7 separate regions of the Homo sapiens genome follow, and all the other regions are linked to region 1. The links are contacts of gene promoters, found by promoter capture Hi-C in blood cells and fetal thymus (Javierre and others, 2016). All regions are on one chromosome and are shown on one strand. The core of a region is centred on a gene start or on the middle of the fragment in contact, and the rest is flanking DNA. Distances in the headings are between cores, read along the strand shown. Region 1 holds the start of SRP68 (signal recognition particle 68). Region 2 overlaps LOC105371896 (a long non-coding RNA gene). Region 3 overlaps UBALD2 (UBA like domain containing 2). Region 4 has its middle 4.7 kb from the start of WBP2. Region 5 holds the start of TRIM47 (tripartite motif containing 47). Region 6 overlaps FBF1 (Fas binding factor 1). Region 7 overlaps MRPL38 (mitochondrial ribosomal protein L38).

Region 1 (2,700 bases), core at 97-2,596:
CATTTGCATAATCTCCAACACCTGCCAAATCTAACTTTCCTTAACAGCTGTGATGCTTAGAGAGTCTATGATTAGCACATGTCAACCAAGCTAGGCTACAGTTTGCATAAAAGTATTAAGGTTTTTCTTTCAAAAGAAGAATGGCCAGATTCTCCTTTTAATAATCTTAAAATATTTAAGATTATGTACTAATCTTTAGAAAGTCCAATGACCTTCATCTATATAGGTATAGTTTTAATGTTTCCTCAACACTTCTCTAGAGACATATTTTAAAATAGTGAACGCTAAAAGGACTCTTTAAATTACTAAAACGGGACAAAGAGATATAAAGGTCTCAGTAAAATCAGGGCTCGCTAGCGTCTACTTGGAACTATTACCAGTAATTCAAAATATTTAACTCCAAGCGCCTGAGAACTTTAAGCACATTAAGATGTCAAGTTGAATGTGTTATTTCAGAAACTCGCCTACGTTTTCTCCATTTGTTATTCATTTCAAAAGGTCACAAACTAGTACCACAAGCACTTGGTTGAGATACACACTGATGGAAACTAGAAACCGATTCCTCCAGCTTATATGAATGACTGTCAGCAAGATAAAATGCCTACAGACCGATCAGAAAAAAATGACACAATCGATATTAACTACGGTAACTTACAATCAAAATGGGCAACAAGCTTTTCCTGAGTCAATCTTTACCTCCACTTTCAAAGTATCGAGCTGTAGGTTTTACTACTCAGTCTATGACGACTGTCAGACAAGAGTATTAAGCCAAATGTCAAGACTGCAGTTTCCTCTCCCCAGTTCAGTGGCTCAAGGTGCCAAAGCAAGGTGCTCAAGGTGTCACTTGGTCACAAGCCCTCCAACTGGACAACTGCGGGGCACCAGGGGAAACCTGCCTGATATCCCAGTGCCACTGGAAGAAACGGACCTAGCCAGGACGGCGAGGGGGACACGAGGAAAGACTAGTCGAGAGACAGACCCCCCCCGGAATTCTGAGCACCAAAAGGTAAGGGCGAGAGAAACTGCAACCCTCGGCCTCTCCTGCCAGGACTTGTCGGGACCCGCCGCCTCTCCCGCCCCCAGCCCTCCAGTTCGACACGTAATCATTGCGAGTTAGGCCCGATTACTCTAGGATACTCTCCAAACTCAGGCTATCCCCAAATTCTTTGTTTGCCTTCGATCCGGCCGAAGGGCGTTCGTTTTCTTTATTTTCTTCCCCTCCGGCACCACGTCCACCGCCGCTACCGCCGCCGCCACTGCCACCGCCGCCGCCACTGCCGCCGCCGCCGCCGCCGCCTGGGACCTGCTTCTCAGCAGCCATCTTGCCCCTGCGCCGCAGAGCAAGACGGGATAGGGGAGGCGGGACGACCTGGGCGGGTGAGAGCTGGACCTGCCTGGCCGGGCTGATGGGATAGCGGCGGACTCCGCCGCCGTCGGCCCTTGCTGCAGCAGGGCGCCATGTGCTGGAGCGCGCCTGCGCGAGGGATCCTGTCATCCCGGGTCCGGAATTGTGGCTGGCTAGGTGGGGACTTGAGGCCGCAGTGAGACCGTGGCTGCTGAGATCTCAGGGGGCAGTCCCACCTCCCACCCACTAAGGGCGGAGAACCGGAGGTGGACCCCAGGTCCTGCATCCTGGACTGGGGATCTGGTTCACGTCCTGCCCAGCAGAAAGCAGGAGACCAAAGATACTGGATTTCGGGGTGTCTGCATCCCCAGGGACTCAAGAGATGGGGTCCTCCCTACCGGAACGGGACACCCCGTCCGTAAGGGACCCGCCTCTGCCTGCCCTTTCCTCTGAGGCTGGCCGTAAGAACGCCAAGCCGGAGGAAGCGCTGCGCAGTCAGCAGACGGTGTCCTAACGGGGTGACTTTCTCAGACCGCTTGGGGCCGTGGACCACTGCACTTTGGGGCCGTCAGTCCAAAGAGGGAGAAGTGTTGAGACATGGGAAAATATGAATTTTTGCTTTGCACCTTCTAGAGTCTGAGACCTGGGATTCCAATCCCCGCTCCGTCATTAGCGGCAGGGACATGTTGGGCACGTAACTTAATCTCCCTGTAAATCTGTTCCTTCATCTATGAAATGGGGATAACCAATTTAAGTGGTTGTTAGGAAGATTAAATGACGGATTTTTTTTTTTTTTTTAGATAGAGTTTCGCTCTTGTTGCCCAGGCTGGAGTGCAATGGTGTGATCTCGGCTCACTGCAACCTCTGCCTCCTGGGTTCAAGCCATTCTCCTGCCTCAGCCTCCCGAGTAGCTGGGATTACAGGCGCCTGCCACCACGTCCCGCTAATTTTTGTATTTTTAGTGGAGACGGGGTTTCACCATGTTGGTCAGGATGGTCTCGATCTCCTGACCTCGTGATCCGCCCGCCTCGGCCTCCCAAAGTGCTGGGATTACAGGCGTGAACCACCGCGCCCGGCCCTGAACTCTATTTTGAATTTCCTCAAGGTATACGGAATAAGGTCAGGAGAAAAAGAATAAGGATCTGATGCATTCAGATTTAACTAACTCTCCCATACATCTCATTCCTTTCTCAGCAGATCCCTCTTAGAAGGAAGTGTTACCATTTCCTTGTTACAGCTGAGGAAACTGAGGCATGGAGCCAAAGACAGAGCCTGACACAATAGATGCTCAGTATATTGGATTGAATTGGAGGGAAAACGTTCAATGGGTAAGAGAAGGGAAAAAGGTGGCCGGG
Region 2 (2,700 bases), core at 28-2,527, 170 kb after region 1:
CCTCAGGATGGTGGGAACACATCCCTGTCATTTATATTGGCTGCTGCTAACGAAGGCTTGGGTTACAGGGCAAGTCCCTGCCCCGGCAGCTTCTCCCAAGCACCAGAGCTCTCTGGCAGAGTCCCTGGTCCTAACTACTCCAGGGCTTTCAGTCATCCCTGTGGGAGGGAACTGGTGTCCTCCTCCATACTCCTTTCAGCACACACAGGCCCTACCTTGTAACTGCTGGGTAAAGGTAAAATGCAAATAAGAATCTAGAACCACCTCAAAACACAAGGCCTTCGACACATCACAGAGTAAAATGTTGCCTTATGCTCCTCGGCTCTGTTCAGAAGCCTTGGTTCTTCCTGCCCTCGGCATTTTGTAAACGGGACATCCCTTCCCTTTGTGGGTTTATCCATGTCTGAGAGTTTCTTCTGCTTAGCCAGGGCCAGGCAGGGATGTGGCTTAGTCAAGCAGCCCAGTCCTGTTGCTTATGGGGTGTCTCTTCTGGTCCCACCTTGGCCTGACCCTGGGAAGCCAGCTTCTCCATCTTGAATAATACTCCCCAAGCCTAGAAGTTGGTTCCTCCTCCCACGAAGGAGTCATGAGTCCAATGCTTAGAATAGTAAAGAAAAACAAGGCATAGCACAATAAAATTAGTGGATATTTATGGAACACTCTATGTGCCAGGCTGTTTTAAACACTTCACACGTATTAAAGCATTCAACCCTCCCAACAACCCTATCAAATACATGCTATTTACACCCCGATTTTACAGTCGAAGAGAATGAGGCACAGAAAGAGCACTAGACTTTGAGTTGGACAAATCAAACCCCTAAGCAGCTATGTAACTTTGACTTAAGCCCTTAGAAACGGTCTCCGTTTCCTCCTCTGAAAATAGCCCAGTCTCCAATGGTTATTGCAAAGATGCAATAAGTGAATCAAGACTCTTTTGTTTTGTTTTGTTTTTGAGACAGAGCCTCACTCTGCTGCCTAGGTTGGAGTGCAATGGTGTGATCTCGGCTCACTGCAACCTCCACCTTCCGGGTTCAAGTGATTCTCCTGCCTCAGCGTCCTGAGTAACTGGGACTACAGGCGCCCGCCACCACGCCCGGCTAACTTTTGTATTTTTAGTAGAGATGGAGTTTCACCATGTTGTCCAGGCTGGTCTCCAACTCCTGACCACAGGTGATCCGCTCGCCTTGGTCTCCCAAAGTGGTGGGATTAAAGGCGTGAGCCACCACACCCAGCCAAGACTCATTTTTAAAAGAATGTTGACCAGAGACAGAAGAGAAACGGATAGAAGGCAGTTTAGAAACTTCTAGATCAAAGAGACTTTTTGTGAATTGAGCTACAGTCCCACAGTCTACAGTGTAATCACCTAGTGTGAACAATTTTGGAAATAGAATCTCAGCCAGTGCCCTGGGCAAAGGCGAGATAAGCAGCTAGACCCTCGGAGCAGCCGACTCTAGAGGGGCTGAGTCCTGCATTCCTCTATGGTTCTTCCCTGGCTCCACTTGGCTCCCTCGCCAAAGATCTGGGCCAGGGAGAGTGCCCGAGGGAGAAGGCAGCTCAGATAGGAGGAAAAATCCAGAAGTGACTGCACCAAGAGAGCCATAAAAATGTTTTTAACTTGAAAAATGGTCTGGGGAGGGGTTGCACAGTGTGCATAGGGAAATCACATGCAAATACCACACGTGCTTTGTGGAAATAGCCTTGTAGCACCCTATCCATTTCCACACTATGGATGCAGCCCTTGGGAGAATCCCAGCAGACAACACAACATCCAAGGGTCTCAGCGGTTTTCTCTAAACATCCCTGGAAGGCAAGGGGCAAAGCCAGGTATTTCTATCACATTGAAGCTCTTCTTCTGCAACTTGGGTCTAAGGGAGAAAGGAGAAGGGTGGGGGAAGTACGGGGACAAGTAATTTTTAGGTGAGCTTGTCCCTTTGGACTTTTCATTTTGTTCATGTTGCTGTCCTGGTTTCAGCCCAGATGTGCCATTTCCACCCTTGTAACACATGCAATGATTAGCTTAGTGCAGGAAGGAGTGAGGGAGCCTGCAGGTGGAAACTGACAGACACAGCCCTGCAGCACAGCATTCCTGAGGCAGCAGGGTTTGGGAGGCAAACCAGTATCTCAGGTGACCTGAAAGAGCTAAGAAAGGTCTCTGATTTTGGGACAGGAAGATGAGAATCTTGGCTGTTCTTAATGAGTACCAGCTCTCTCCAGAAGATAGGGCCCAATCAGCCACACATGGGCCCGATCCCTCTTTTAGTCCTCGACATGTGGCTTCGGTGGATTGAAGCCAAAACCACCAGCGGAGAATGTCACATCCTGCTCCAGATCAGTGGGCTAGGCTAACGTCGACAGAATAGTCTGATCCTAAATGCTTTGGGGCCCTGCAGATGGTTCCTCTGGCAACCTAAGGCTCTCTGTAGAGGAAAATAATCTTGTCCATTAGGAAATCCGCAATCAGGCTTTCATATTTTGCTTTTTGCTGAGTGTGAATTCCTCATTGTTAATTTCGTCCTCCACTCTGGGCTGCCAATAAAGAAGAGTTGTTCAAATGGATGCAGACTCCAGTCCAGTTTGTAGCCTATTAATCTATTTTTCAAGTTAAGACTAAAATGAAAGATGATGTTTACACGGCCCAATGTGTTGGGGATAAGGCGAAGTGAGTGGGGCACCCAGAATGTCAACTTTAAGTTCTCATTC
Region 3 (2,700 bases), core at 181-2,680, 200 kb after region 1:
GGGTTGGCACAGGAGGGAGAGCCTCCCCGCTGGCCGCTCTCCCTTGCCTAGCAGCCTGGGAGCATCTGAGGGTGGCTGGTGGGGCAGTCAGCTGGTCTCCCTGCCCAGGGAAGGTGCGGAACAGTGGTGTCCTGGGCTGCCCCCTTGCCCTTTCACTTTAATCTGACACCTTAGCTCCTGGGTGCAATTAACCATTTACTTTGAATGCTCCTCGGGGTGTCATTTCCAGGCCTCATGAAACCCCGTTGGTTTTGATAAGGTTCTTGGGTTTTGTCCTTGTTTTCTGTTTGTATTGCCTCGGGGAGAGGGCACTTTTGTCCTGTGGAAGCTGCTTGTGCGAAAATGAATGAAGCTGAAAAATGGGAGTAAAGGAGCGGCTGGCCTGGGTAAGCCCCATCCAGTGGCTCGGGGACCCCCGAGGCAGCCTCCCCACACCCGTGTTCTCTCCCGCAGATGTGCACTCCCAGCAACACCCCTGCCACGCCGCCCAACTTCCCCGATGCGCTGGCCATGTTCTCCAAGCTCCGCGCCTCCGAGGGCCTGCAGAGCAGCAACAGCCCCATGACAGCCGCAGCCTGCTCCCCACCTGCAAACTTCAGCCCCTTCTGGGCCTCGTCCCCGCCCAGCCACCAGGCGCCCTGGATCCCGCCCTCCTCCCCCACCACCTTCCACCACCTCCACCGCCCACAGCCCACGTGGCCCCCAGGAGCACAGCAGGGGGGCGCCCAGCAGAAAGCCATGGCGGCCATGGACGGCCAGAGATGAGACTGGACGCCGCCGGGCGCTGGGCTGGAGCTGGGGGCAGCCCAGGGTTGTGGGGACACAGGAGGGCCAGGGAGGGGGGAGCCGGGGAGGGCAGGGGGTTTCCCGAAGATCGCACTGGAAGATTTTATAAAAGAATTTTTGTGGGTCGGGGGGACAGTAAACTTCCTGGGCCACGTGGGTCCTTCAGGAGTTTTTCAGGCAAGTTTTTCCTCTGTTTTTAATATATAACTATAATATATATGAATAGATAAATATAACTAATGTGCGTGAGAATGGGCCTGGCACACCTGGGGTGCTCGGGGGTAGGGCTGCCATGCTGCAGAGCTGATGGAGTGATGTTGTGGGCACAAGGCATCTGTCAGCTGCCTCCTTTAACAGCCATGCCTTCTGGAATCTGGAAGAGGACACCACTCCTGCAGTCACTGGGCAGCCACATAGCAGCTGCAGGTCCCAGGAGGGCCTGAGGTCAAAGCTGTGGAAGGCCCTCTTGGTATCAGGGCTCTCTCCCCATGGCCTCTTCCCCACCTCTGATTGCTGGTTGTGGCCCCATAGCTCATCACCCCTGTCTCCTGCTGAATGTGCAGGGCTGATGTGGCACTGAGGAGCTGACTTTGGTCAAAGGCCAGGCTCTGCCCAGCAGGGGACTTGACTGCCCTGGGCGCCCTGCCCCTCCCGCTGCGTGTCCAGGTCCAAAGTGGAGAGCCTGCCTTTGGGTTTAGTTCCCGAATCAGAATCCCATCTCACCAGGGCGAAATTTTAATTTAAAAACTTAAAAAGAGACTTTTCTAACTTCCCTGGTTTGCGGTGCTTTTATTTCCGTTGGTGGGAAAAGCGGTCTCCTCAGAAGAGGGGTGGTGGGGGTCCCTTGCCACTGGGCTGGTCTGGATGTTTTTGCTGTGGGATGGTCACACCAGGGGCTCTGACAGCAAGGTCCAGGTTGGTGTGGGGAGGAGAGAGGGGCCGGGGTCCGTCCTGAGTTTCTGTGACCTTCCCTTCTTGGCCCCATCGGTGTAGCCCCCACCCACAGAGCCCTAGTGAGAAGAGCTGGAAGCCATTTTCATCTACAGTGGGGAGAGCTTCCTTCTAGCTGGGGGCCTCCTGATGGCCCCCCCAGGCCCTCCCAGGAAGCATCTTCCAGCTGGGCTCATCTCCGATACTCCTCTCCTCAGCTTCCCGGGGGCAGTATGTCCCTTTGGGTCATGGCCTGTGGAGTGGCCATGACCCAAAGTTCAATTAAGGCTGGCGGGTCCCCAGAGGGGCCTGCTTCCATTCCCCCTTCCCCGCAGCCCTGCAGGCGTCAGCATGGGGCGAGGTTACCAGTTCCTGACCCAGCAGCTCGTCCTCAGGTGGTCCTGCTGCTCGGGAGGTCAGCTGCGTGGGGAGCCTGTCCACCTGGCTGATGGGGGTGATGGCCGCGTGGCTGGGATTCCTCCTCCAGCCCTGCCCTTCACCGCCATACAGTCTGGGCAGCCCCTTCCTGTCCCGTCCTCCTGCCTCGCCCTCTGCTGGGGTCTACGGGGCCCAAGTCTTGCTGGAACACAGGCAGGACAAGGGTTCTGGAGGTTCAGGCCGGAAGTGAAATAAAAGTCGAGAGGGGCCGGGCCCGGCACCCACCGCATCCTGCCTCCGGGCCTCCTCGGGCCCCTCACACGGTGGGGCAGCCCCTCCTCCAGTGGAGCGGAACGGTGGGCCCCGCTGCCCCTCCACCCCTGCGTGTGACACGGACGTGCTTGGAAGCTGGGTTCGTCCTTTCAGTTTTGTTTCCTGGTTGGAAACCCCTGAGACTCCTCCCCCTCCCCCCGCCCCTGCCCACCTGTGCTTTCCCAGGCTGGAAGGGGCAGCCCCTCTCAGCACGTGGGTGGTTAGGCTGTGACGTCCCCAGGCCTCCTGGGCCTGCACCGGGGTCCACCCAGGTGTGGGCCATGCCCAGGTGCG
Region 4 (2,700 bases), core at 91-2,590, 210 kb before region 1:
CAGTGAGCTGAGATCAAGCCACTGCACTCCAGCCTGGGCAACGAGAGGAAAGCTCTAACTCAAAAAAAAAAAACAACCCCACAATTATTCATTCACAATACTGTGGCTACAGTGAGGCCTCCTGACAGGAGGGGAAATGACAAGAAGAGGAAGTTGCAGTGCAGAGATAACAAGCTTGACCAGCTCCGGCTACAATGTCCAGAATTTCTAAGTTTTACAAAAACATATGACCATGTGAACACACTTCCTGGGCGGCTCCCATGACTTTGGGGCTGGAACGTACCAGAACTCAAAACTCAAACCGAAGACTTCAACAATGGTTTATTGCTGAACCAGGTGAGCAGCAGGAGGCTCCCCTGGGCCCAGGTCTCAGTACTCAGACCTCTCCTCTGGCCTCATACTCCTGTCTGCCTGTCTCCAGATCTCTTTTTCACTGCAGTATGATGCTCATATTCTCCACACTGGAGCACATCTTAGCGGTGCGCTAAGGAGGAGTGCAGGTTGGCCTCAGATACCAGCAGGCAAGGTCTGGGGCAGCTGAGCCCCTGAACTGGTCACCTGTTTTTTCTGTTTATAATTTTATTTATTATTTATGTATTTATTTTTGATACAGGGTCTTGCCCGTCTCCTGGGGTGGAGTGCATTGACATGATCTCTGCTCACTGCAGCCTCCGCCTCCCGGGTTCAAGCAATTCTCATGCCTCAGCCTCCAGAGTAGCTGGGACTACAGAATCGTGCCACCACGCCCAGCTAATCTTTGTATTTTTAGTAGAGATGGGGTTTCACCATGTTGGCCAAGCTGGTCTCAAATTCCTGACCTCAAGTCATCCGCCCACCTAACACTCCCGAAAGTGTTAGGATTACAGGTATGAGCCACCGCCCCCGCCTGGTCGCCTCTTGACTCCCAATAAGATGAATCTGTTTGCCCCAGTGAGCCAAATAAATACCATTTTCACTGAACAAATCATTTTCTGTGTGTGCCATGACATAAAAGAGGTTGGCAGGCCCGTAGAGGTGGCTCATGCCTGTAATCCCAGCATTTTGGAAGACTGAGGCAGGAGGATTGCTTCAGCCCAGGAGTTTAAGACCATCCTGGGCAACATAGTGAGACCCTCCCTCTAAAAATTTAAAAAAAAAAAAAAAAAAAAAGGTTGGCAGCATTTACCAAACGGTGGCTGTTTTTCCTTACCTTGACCCACAGTAAAAATATATAGGGCTTGAGCCCAGGAGTTTGAGACCAGCCTGGGTGACAGAGCGAGACCCTGTCTTACATTGTCACTCAGGCTGGAGTGGTGCAGTCATGGCTTACTGCACCTTCAACCTCCCGGGCTCAAGCAATCTTTTTACGTCAGCCTCCTAAGTAGCTGGGACTACAAGTGCACATCACCATGCCTGGCTAGTTTAAAAAATTTTTTTGGTAGAGATGGGGTTCCATTATGTTGCCCAGGATGGTCTTGAACTCCTGGCATCAAGCAGTGGTCCTGCCTCAGCCTCCCAAGTAGCTGAGAGTACAGGCCCTGCCACCACCACATGCTGCTTAATTTGTATTTTGTAGTGGGATATATTCTGAAATTTTCTGTTTTATTTTGTCATCTTAAAAAATTGCTGCAAGCAGCCGGGCGCAGTTGCTGACGCCTGTAAATCCAGCACTTTGGGAGGCCGAGGCAGGCAGATCACGAGGTCAGGAGATCAAGACCATCCTGGCTAACACGGTGAAACCCTGTCTCTACTAAAAAAAAAAAATACAAAAAAATTAGCCGGGTGTGGTGGTGAGCACCTGTAGTCCCAGCTACTCAGGAGGCTGAGGCAGGAGAATGGCGTGAACCCAGGAGGCGGAGCTTGCAGTGAGCAGAGATCGAGCCACTGCACTCCAGTCTCGGCGACAGAGTGAGACTCCGTCTCAAAAAAAAAAAAAAAAATTGCTGAAAGGGCCGGGCTCGGTGGCTCGCACCTCTAATCCCAGCACTTTGGGAAGCCGAGGCGGGCAGATCACCTGAGTCAGGAGTTCAAGACCAGCCTGGCCAACATGGTGAAACCCCGTCTCTACTAAAACTACAAAATTAGCCGGGCATGGTGGCGCAAGCCTGTAATCCCAGCTACTCGGGAGGCTGAGGCAGGAGAATAGCTGGAATCTGGAAGACGGAGGTTGCAGTGAGCCGAGATGGCGCCATTGCACTCCAGCCTGGGCAAAAAGAGTGAAACTCAAAAAAAAAAAAAGTGCTGCCGGCGTGGTGGCTCACGGCGGACACTTGAGGTCAGGAGTTTGAGACCAGCCTGGCCAACATGGTGAAGCCCCCATCTCTACTAAAAATACAAAAAGTTAGCCGGGGGTGGTGGAGCGCACCTGTAGTCCCAGCTACTCAGGAGGCTGAGGTGGGAGGATTGCTTCGCTCAGGAGGCAGAGGCTGCAGTGAGCTGAGTTCGCACCATTGCACTCCAGCCTGGGTGACAGAGTGAGACCCCCATCTCAAAAAACAAAACAAAACACCAAAATCAACAATAATACAGAAGCTTGAAAGAGGAGCCCCAGGGTACTAAAACCCAGCCCTCTGAAGAGCGGGCCTGGGCCGGCTGGTGCTGGTGCCCGTGCCTCTGAAGGGAGCTCAGGGTAGCTGGTTCTGCAAGGGTTGGAAAAAGTAGAAACTGGATTCAGCTGCTGCTAAAGAACTGCAGCTGCCCCAATGAAGAAGCTTTCCTGGG
Region 5 (2,700 bases), core at 1-2,500, 190 kb before region 1:
CAGAGGCGCCAAGACCGGGCTGGAGGCCAAAGGAAACTGGGGGCGGGAGGTAGAGGCCGCGGCTCACATGCTCCCACCACTGGCCCCCGGAACAGCTGGACAGAGAATCTGTGTGCCCGGTCGCCCTCTGCCGCCCTCCTGCCGCCTGCCACACCCATCGAAAGCTGCTGCCTCAGCCCAGGGCAAATCTGAGCTGAGACCGGCGTGACCCTCCGGGCGGGAGCAGCAGCCACGCTACCGGAACCCCGCGGGCCTAACCCGGCTCCCTCCCGCCTACACCCCCATAGACCCCGGCCCGGCTTCAGGTCCCCTGCCCGCTCTTCGCGTCCTTGTCCTGTTCTCACGTCCCTCCTTCCTCCCTTCCCATCTCCATCACCGCCAGCAGATGACCTTGTCAAGGCTGGAAGGGACCGCAAAGATCCTCAGGTTAGAGGAGGAGATTAAGACCCAACCCGGGAAGACTGGGGGGTCCAAGGTCCTCGGCCCGCTCGCGCGCGGTCGGTCACCAGCCCCGGCTCACCCGAGTGTGCCCCCGGAGCCCACCTCCTGAAGCGCGCGCTCCTGCTCCAGCGGCACCAGCTCGTGGCCGCGGTGCTCCTGTGCGGCGCAGGCCTCGCACAGACACACGCGCTCCGCGCGGCAGTAGCGCTCGAGCGGCCGTAGGTGGCGCGGGCACAGGCTCTCCTCTAGCCGGCGCAGCGGCGGCACCAGGCGGTGTCCGCGGAGGGCGGGGCTGCGCTCGTGCGGGCCCAGGTGCGCGGGGCAAAAGGAGGCGAGGCAGGAGAGGCAGGACAGCGCGGCGGGCAGGGCCGCGCCCTCGGGGCACGCGTCGCAGCGCACTGGCTCTTCGCCCGCGGGCCACGGCTCGGGAGCGCAGGGGGCCGACGGCTCCGGGACACTGGGCAGCGCGCTGGGTGCCGAGGGCTCCGGGGCCAGGGCAGGGGCCGGGCCGGGGCCGGACCCGGGGCCCGAGCCCTGGCGGAGCTGCAGCAGCTCGGACAGCGTGTGGTTCTTGCGGAGCTGAAGGCCGTCGGGGAAGGGCTCCTGGCACAGCGGGCAGCGGGCCGCGCCTCCGGGTCCGCCGGCTCCACTCGCGCCACGATGCGGCCAGAGCGCGCCCAGGCAGGCGAGACAGAAGTTGTGGCCGCAGGGCAGCGTCACCGGCTCCCGGAGTGGCTCTAGGCAGATGGGGCAGCTGAAGGGTCCACTGCCGTCCATGACTCCGCGGCCGCCCAGGGCGCCGCCGATTGTGCTCCGGCCTGGGAGGGACCCGGGCCGTTCGCGCCGCGGCACCTCCCCCTGGGACCTAGGCCAGGGCTCCGGCCCCCGCCCGCCCCCAGCTCGGCCCGCCCCGCAGCACCGCCCGCCTGCGGGCCCGCGGACTCCCAGTCCCCGCCCAGACAACGCAGGGAGGCCTCCGAGCCCGCGCGACCCCCAGGGGAGTCCGCGTGGTCCTAAGGAAGGGCGCTGCTGAAAGGGTGTGAAACTGAGTGAGCGCGGGCGGAGAACGCGAGAGGTACAGTGGAAGGAATGGGAAGGACTCAGCCTCCATCCCTCTGGTCCTTCTGGGCCAGGCCAGCGCTCCGCAGGGGCTGGGCGCGTCTAGCTGTGTCATGCCTGCACCTTTGCGCTCGACCCCTCCCTGGCACCCTTAGCAAAGTTCCTGAGCTGCTGACTGCAGAGAAAAATAACTGCTGATGTACATATGTTTTTGCCCCTTAGCGACTCTTTTTTTTTTTTTTTTTGAGACAGAGTTCCTCTCTTGTCGCCCAGGCTGGAGTGCAGGGGCGCTATCTCGGCTCACTGCAACCTCCGCCTCCCGGATTCAAGTGATTCTCCTGCCTTAGCCTCCCAAGTAGCTGGAATTATAGGCGCTTGCCACCACACCAGGCAAATTTTTGTATTTTTTTGTAGAGACGGAGTTTCACCTTGTCCAGGCTGGTCTTGAACTCGTGACCTCAGGTGATCCACCTGCCTCGGCCTCCCAAAGTGCTGGGATTACAGGCGTGAGCCACAGCGCCCAGCTCCTTTAGCGACTCTTTACCCCAAGTAGGGAACTTGGACTTTTCTAGACCTGAAATGGGAAGTTGACGTCATTCCCTAAGTCCCTTGTCTGAGGAATGTAGTTCTGGCCCCTGGACACTGGGGACACCTGTGGTGGGGTTGGGGGTTCCCCAACTGGAAGTATTTAAAGCTCATCTAATTATGCACTTAAAGTGGTGCGTTTTATTGTATGAGTTATATCTCAATAATGTTAAGTTAAAACACTACACCAGAATGACAACAAAATAAGTAAAGTAGCACTGATTATAACCCAAAGTGTAAAATAAACATCTATGAGTCCATGCCGATATAAATAAATAATAAATTAACAAGCTGGGGAGAACAGACATATTTCGCATTGAAAATTCCAAATAATGTTTTTTTATTTTTATTTTTTTAGATGGAGTTTCGCTCTTGTCGCCCAGGCTGGAGTGCAGTGGCGCAATCTCAGCTCACTGCAACCTCTGTCTCCTGGGTTCAAGCGATTCTCCCTCCTCGGACTCTTGAGTAGCTGGGATTACAGGCGCCCGCCACCACATTTGGCTAATTTTTGTATTTTTAGTAGAGACGGGGTTTCACCATGTTGGCCAAGCTGGTCTCGAACTGCTGACTTCAGGTGATCCACCCGCCTCGGCCTCCCAAAGTGCTGGGATTACA
Region 6 (2,700 bases), core at 157-2,656, 140 kb before region 1:
TTTTAACTCACACAGCTTCTCCAGGAGCTGCCCATGTTGGACCCAGAGGGCCTGGAACAGCTCGAGGAAGGGAGGAAACTCAAGCTGTCCCCTTACCCCACCACACACACTCAAACACACACACGCACAAATGCTCCTTGGCCTCTCCATCCTGTGCAGAGAAAACCCAAGGACATGAACGCTTCCTACTAGCATCTTCCACGTCCTCAAAGTCTCCCTAGCAGATGCGAGGAGCCGTCTCCCATGCACCTTTCTCACTGGCTACTGACCCACCTGCAGGCTTGGGGTGGTTGGGCAGCTCTCCTTTCCCAGGGTCCTTTGCAGCTTTTTTGCTAGGGGCTGAATTAGATTTCTTCAGACCTAAGATATCAGCATCCATGCCGTCCAGGTCCTAGAAAACCAGGGAGGGAGGGCAGAGGACTATGTCTGATAAGGGGCTGAGGACTTCCACCTGAGAGAGATGGGCTGTTGGCACCCCAGGTGTAGAATTGTGAGAAAACAAAGGAAAATGAGAAAACTGTTGAGAAAAACAGTGAGTGAAGAAAGAAAATGGAACTAAAGGTAAGCAGGGGGAGGTGGAATGGAGTCCAGCTCATGGTTCTGGGATGAGAGACTCAAAGTCAGCACCAAAAATTGAGTCAGAGGACTTGTGGGTTATGCCCAGGGATCCTAGGTGGCTGGTCTCGGGAAAAAAGCTTTCTTTTTTTTCTTTTTTTAGACAGGATATTGGCCGGGCGCGGTGGCTCATGCCTAGAATCCCAGCACTTTGGGCCGAGGCAGGTGGATCACCAGGTCAAGAAATCGAGACCATCCTGGCCAACATGATGAAACCCTGTCTCTACAAAAAATACAAAAATTAGTTGGGTGTGGTGGTGCACGCCTGTAATCCCAGCTACTTGGGAGGCTGAGGTAGGAGAATCGCTTGAACCTGGGAGGTGGAGGTTGCAGTGAGCCGAGATCATGCCACTGCACTCCAGCCTAGGCAACAGAGCAAGACTCCGTCTCAAAAAAATAAAAATAAATTAAAAATAAAATAAAATAAAGACAGAGTCTCACTCTGTCACCCAGGCTGGAGTGAAGTGGTGCGATCATAGCTCATTGCAGCCTCCAACTTCTGAGCTCAAGTGATCCACCTGCCATGGCCTCCCAAAGTGCTGGCATTACAGGAGTAAGCCACCATGCCAGACTTTTTTTTTTTTTTTGAAGACAGAGTCTCACTCTGTCACCACCCAGGCTGTAGTGCAGTGGTGTGATCATAGCTCATTGCAGCCTCCAACTCCTAGGCTCAAGCGAGCCTACTGCCTCGGCCTCCCAAAGTTCTGGGATTACAGGTGCCTGGCCTTTGAGGAGAAAGATTTCAAGATGAGATTAAAGAAGCTGAATCTGGACCGGGTGTGGTGCCTCATGCCTGTAATTACAGTATTTTGGGAGGCCAAGGTAAGAGAATCGCTTAAGGCCAGGAGTTTAAGGTTGCAATGAGATCACACCACTGCACTCCAGCCTGGGTGATAGAATGCGATGGTGTCTCTAAAAAAAAACCCAAAAAACAAAAATACACAACAAAAACAAGAGCCCCACAGGGCTGTAACCAAAAACGCGGCTTTGTCCTAGGGACTGTGGCAAAATGGGTTAACTAAAAGGGACACAAAACCCCAAGGGTCAGACAGGAAGGTGCTGCTGGCTGGAAGGAGAGGGAGAACAAGGTGTCTTAGGCCAAGCTAGAGATTATGTCCTTACAAATTATTCAGAATCTGTGCCTTAAAAATCCATTGCAAAGATTGGCGCTGGGCTTGATCTGATGAGAAGACAGCAGTATTGAAGGGGGCTTGGCAGGGGATGTGGAGAGAAATATGGAGAAAGATTAAGAACAAGCATTAGAGGAAAGAGTCTCCCCCTCTGTCTTCTAGGTGGAGGTGAGGGGACCCAGCTAGGTGGGCCTCCGAGTAGAGCTGGCCCCGTTTCCCCAGAGGCCTGTGGCACTCTCCACTCTCTATATACCAGGAACACTGGTTGATACTCAGAAAGGCAAGGAGGCCAACGGCTCACAGACGAGTTCCATGCTTGCACGAGGAAGGGCTCAGAAACACAGGTTGTAAAGGGAGAAATTAGAAGGAGAATGAAGCTTTGGTACAAAATATCATGACCCCACCCCACCCACCCCCAGTTCTAAGAATCGTGCAAGCTGTTTCCTTACCTTCATGGCCTGGAGCAGAGCCTGTGGGTCTGCCTCTGAGATACCTGAAACCTAAGTCCACAATGAGGGTGAGGACACAGATGAGGAGGCACATTAGTCAAGGCCCAATAAAACTCAGGGTCCTGGCCCCTTGCTTCTGTTAGGGCAGACGGCGCGGCAGGAGCAGAGCTTGGCCAATGGAGCTTACACAGGAGGGTGGCTTTGTTCCCCTTGCTTGGGCTTGGCAGTTGTTTGAAGCCAAACCTGCCTGGTTTTAGAGACTCAGAGAGCACTGCCATTCCTACTCCTTCCAACCATAGAGAACTCTTCCATCCAGGACTGAAATTCTGCTACTTCCCACCCATGCCAATGGACAGCTATGGAGTTTATAAGGGGAAAGGAGCAACATCTAAGACTCTAGCAGTTTCAGGGAGCTCTCCTTTCCACTCATCTTACTACAGGAAAGAGGATTCTGCTTTGGGTCCACTCGGCAGCCCTTGGGCATTATTTACAGTGGCTCACGCCTG
Region 7 (2,700 bases), core at 185-2,684, 170 kb before region 1:
GTCTCAAGGCTGAGGTCAAGAGAGAACTGAGCAAGAGTGACCGTTCCAGGGGAGCTGGCCTGAGGCCGGGTTATGTGTGGGTGGTGTAGATTACCAGGGTGAGGGGCGTGCGTCCTCAGAGAAGTCAATCGGCTGGTCCTGCTTGAAGAGCAGGAAGGCAAGACGGTGGATGCCGGAGCCTCGGGCAGGGAAGGGGGGGAGGTAGGGACACGTCACCTGTCCTTCAGCCACCCGGTTACCCGGGATGTTGGTTCTGGGAGGAGGAAAGTCCCGGTTAATTACCACTCCAGGGAGGCAGCAGGAGTGTCCCCTCAGCTCCATGCACACCCTAGAGGCTGACATGACTCCCTGGGAGGACAGCTCTAAGCATCTCTCTCCTGGGACAGAGGAGGCAGCCAAGCTCTGTGAACGCCGGGACATGCTGCAAATACGGGAAGCGGGCTGGAGGAGCTCCGAGTGGGGGACAGGGCTCCAGAGAGCATCAGCTTGACAGCAAGGCCATGCAGCCGCTTCCAGGCCCCGGGAGCCGGTGGGTCCGCCACAGTCACTGAGGCTAGAAAGCCAGGCCACTTTTGGCTGCTTTTCCCTCTGCGTCCTGAAGTCTCCAGGACCTCGTCAGGGAGTGTGTGCCCAGCCTGGCACAGGGGCGGCCAACGCCTCAGGCACAAATCCCCAGAGGGTCCTGCCGCATAGGCTGGTAACAGTTGAATAAAAATGACGGAAACCAGCCTCCCAGTCACTGTCCCCAGTTAACCAGAAGGCTCAAAGTTGGGGTCACTGGCCTGACCTCTGCCCCCTGGCCTGGTGTTCAGAGCCAAAAGCTACCAAGATGGAAGGCCGCCCAGTCTGGGCCCAGGGAAGGAGCGCCCAGTGGTTCAAGGAGCACCTGGGGGACGCCACAGCTGCTAGGCCTCTCCCGCTCCTTCTCCCACGTGACTGTCACAGTCCACCTCACGCTGAGTAAGGCATGTGGTGCCATTATCCCAGTTTTACAGGTGAAGAAATGAGTTTAGAGACGAAGGGCCCAGGCATGGTGGCTCACGCTTATAATCCTAGCACTTTGGGAGGCGGAGGCGGGCAGATCGCTTGAGCTCAGGAGACCAGCCTGGGCAACATGGTGAAACCCTGTCTCTATAAAAAAATACAAAAATTAGCTGGGTGTAGTGGTTTGCACCTGTAGTCCCAGCTACTCAGGAGACTGAGGTGGGAAGAGCACCTGAGCCCAGGAGTTAGCGGCTGCAATTAGCCATGATTGCACCACTGTACTCCAGCCTGGGGGACAGAGTGAGACCCTGTCTCAAAAAAAAAAAAAAAAAAGAAAAGAAAAGATGAGGAGGCTTGTGGGGACTGACCGAGGCCTACTGCAAACTTTGTCTCCTGTAGCTGTCTTCAAGTAGACACGTGGATCCCAGGGCCCCTAACACCCTCAGGAGGCAGAGGTGGCAGGTGAATTCAAGGTCCCATGGGTAGTCCATGAAACTCAGGAGCAGCTCAGTCCAGGCTCCCAGCTCCTCTTCCCGCCTGGGCAGCACCCCCTACCCCCAGTACTCCAGTACTCACAGCAGCCAGTGGAGGTACTCAGCATCTGGCTCCAGCAGGTGCCCATCTGCACAAAAACACACCTGCTGACCACGGCCCAGCCGACCACGGCCCTGCCACCCCCTCCCTTGTTAGGAGCCAGCGCTGGAGATCTCCACCTGGCCCCTCCCCCAGCCCCCCAGGGCCCTGGCTCATAGGAGGTGAGCGGGGCAGGAGGCCTGGTGAGCCCCAGACACCCACCCAAGCTAGTGAGTAGCAACGTCCACAAGGAGCCCTCTTCTGCCTCATAGGTCACCTCTGGCGCTTGGGCAGCCTGGCAGGGTGAGAAGGAAGCTGTCAGCCCCACCAGGGACAGGCCAGCTGTTGCAGGGAGCCTTGGAGAAAGGGGTGCCCACTCTGACCCAAAAGCCCTTGACAACCCCTGGCACAGGCAGGCAGGCAAAGGGATGCGTAGAGAAGCAGCCCTGCAGAGTTGCCTGTCCAGGCAACAACCACAAAAACGAACATGTGCCAAGGCCGGGCCAGGAGGGCACACCACAGACAGCAGGCTGGTCACAGGAATGTGCTAAGACAGAGCCTCTTTTTCCTTCATTTTGTTCTATTTTCTTTGAAATTGTCATGGTGTCGTCTTCCAGGAAATCAAAGAGACAGAGAACAACAAAATTCCAAACCCAGGAGTGTCTGTGACACTGAGATGGGATGTGTCTGTGTTTGCACAGGGCAGGGAGGAGGGGCACAAGTGAGTGGTTACCTCGGTTGGAGTCACCTCATTGCCACAGTACACAGGCATCAGGTCATCCTCACCCACAGCGTAGGCCACGTGCAGGGGGACTCGGGGCACAAAGGTGGCACCGTGGAACAGGTCTCGGTAGAGGCCGTAATACTCAGCCAGACGCTGCTTGTGGTAGGGGCCACAGGTCCTCTCCCACTCGGCCCGCACGGCATCCAGCGGGACACTGGCTAGACAGGAATAAGGCCAGTTGGGATACGGGGGTGGGGGGGGCAGGGACACACCCTGTACCCCAACTCTGGGATGGCCCCTCCCCTGAGAAGGCTTACCTGTGCGGAGGCGGGCAGCCCGCTCCTCTTCCACATTGGCCCGAAGCTCCTGGATGGCCTGTTTCCGTTCCAGTAGCTGTTGGGTCCGGGAGACTTTGGGTG

What was found. The method cuts DNA at HindIII sites, captures the fragments that hold promoters and counts their contacts. A CHiCAGO score of 5 or more calls a contact.
Region 2: a fragment that was not itself captured here is called in contact with the fragment with the promoter of SRP68 in region 1 in 1 of 17 cell types (endothelial precursors); the score reaches 5.2 in endothelial precursors.
Region 3: a fragment that was not itself captured here is called in contact with the fragment with the promoter of SRP68 in region 1 in 6 of 17 cell types (endothelial precursors, M1 macrophages, fetal thymus and 3 more); the score reaches 6.0 in endothelial precursors.
Region 4: a fragment that was not itself captured here is called in contact with the fragment with the promoter of SRP68 in region 1 in 1 of 17 cell types (endothelial precursors); the score reaches 5.5 in endothelial precursors.
Region 5: the fragment with the promoter of TRIM47 here is called in contact with the fragment with the promoter of SRP68 in region 1 in 9 of 17 cell types (fetal thymus, non-activated CD4 T cells, erythroblasts and 6 more); the score reaches 10.4 in fetal thymus.
Region 6: a fragment that was not itself captured here is called in contact with the fragment with the promoter of SRP68 in region 1 in 3 of 17 cell types (endothelial precursors, erythroblasts and M1 macrophages); the score reaches 7.4 in endothelial precursors.
Region 7: a fragment that was not itself captured here is called in contact with the fragment with the promoter of SRP68 in region 1 in 1 of 17 cell types (endothelial precursors); the score reaches 6.5 in endothelial precursors.

Annotation. Positions count from the first base shown.
Region 1 is chr17:76,071,171-76,073,870 of GRCh38, forward strand. SRP68 (signal recognition particle 68) reads right to left here and starts at 1,347. Exons shown (of 16, transcript NM_014230.4): 1 at 1,138-1,347. The coding sequence starts at 1,321. It also overlaps a transcript of GALR2 not described here. RefSeq lists enhancers at 634-1,461, 1,460-1,509, 1,462-2,289. The HindIII fragment of the contact is 7,541 bases long and covers 673-2,700 here.
Region 2 is chr17:76,241,969-76,244,668 of GRCh38, forward strand. LOC105371896 (a long non-coding RNA gene) reads right to left here. Exons shown (of 6, transcript XR_007065913.1): 6 at 1-2,526. Among named protein-coding and RNA genes, the nearest start is that of RNF157, 2.8 kb to the left of the region's middle. The HindIII fragment of the contact is 3,783 bases long and covers 1-2,700 here.
Region 3 is chr17:76,269,741-76,272,440 of GRCh38, forward strand. It overlaps UBALD2 (UBA like domain containing 2), which reads left to right. Exons shown (of 3, transcript NM_182565.4): 3 at 454-1,558. The coding sequence ends at 765. Among named protein-coding and RNA genes, the nearest start is that of UBALD2, 5.7 kb to the left of the region's middle. RefSeq lists enhancers at 321-510, 1,391-1,610, 2,198-2,700, 2,551-2,600 and a silencer at 2,301-2,400. The HindIII fragment of the contact is 5,749 bases long and covers 1-2,700 here.
Region 4 is chr17:75,858,716-75,861,415 of GRCh38, forward strand. No RefSeq gene overlaps it. Among named protein-coding and RNA genes, the nearest start is that of WBP2, 4.7 kb to the left of the region's middle. The HindIII fragment of the contact is 2,337 bases long and covers 173-2,509 here.
Region 5 is chr17:75,877,331-75,880,030 of GRCh38, forward strand. It overlaps TRIM47 (tripartite motif containing 47), which reads right to left and starts at 1,251. Exons shown (of 6, transcript NM_033452.3): 1 at 544-1,251. The coding sequence starts at 1,218. It also overlaps a transcript of TRIM65 not described here. RefSeq lists enhancers at 1-625, 626-1,541 and silencers at 386-565, 576-955, 1,086-1,435. The HindIII fragment of the contact is 18,500 bases long and covers 1-2,700 here.
Region 6 is chr17:75,927,803-75,930,502 of GRCh38, forward strand. It overlaps FBF1 (Fas binding factor 1), which reads right to left. Exons shown (of 30, transcript NM_001319193.2): 7 at 2,195-2,245; 8 at 274-391. Among named protein-coding and RNA genes, the nearest start is that of FBF1, 12 kb to the right of the region's middle. The HindIII fragment of the contact is 1,427 bases long and covers 694-2,120 here.
Region 7 is chr17:75,899,422-75,902,121 of GRCh38, forward strand. MRPL38 (mitochondrial ribosomal protein L38) reads right to left here. Exons shown (of 9, transcript NM_032478.4): 3 at 2,599-2,700; 4 at 2,291-2,499; 5 at 1,780-1,852; 6 at 1,561-1,606; 7 at 95-253. Among named protein-coding and RNA genes, the nearest start is that of TRIM65, 3.8 kb to the left of the region's middle. The HindIII fragment of the contact is 3,542 bases long and covers 1-2,700 here.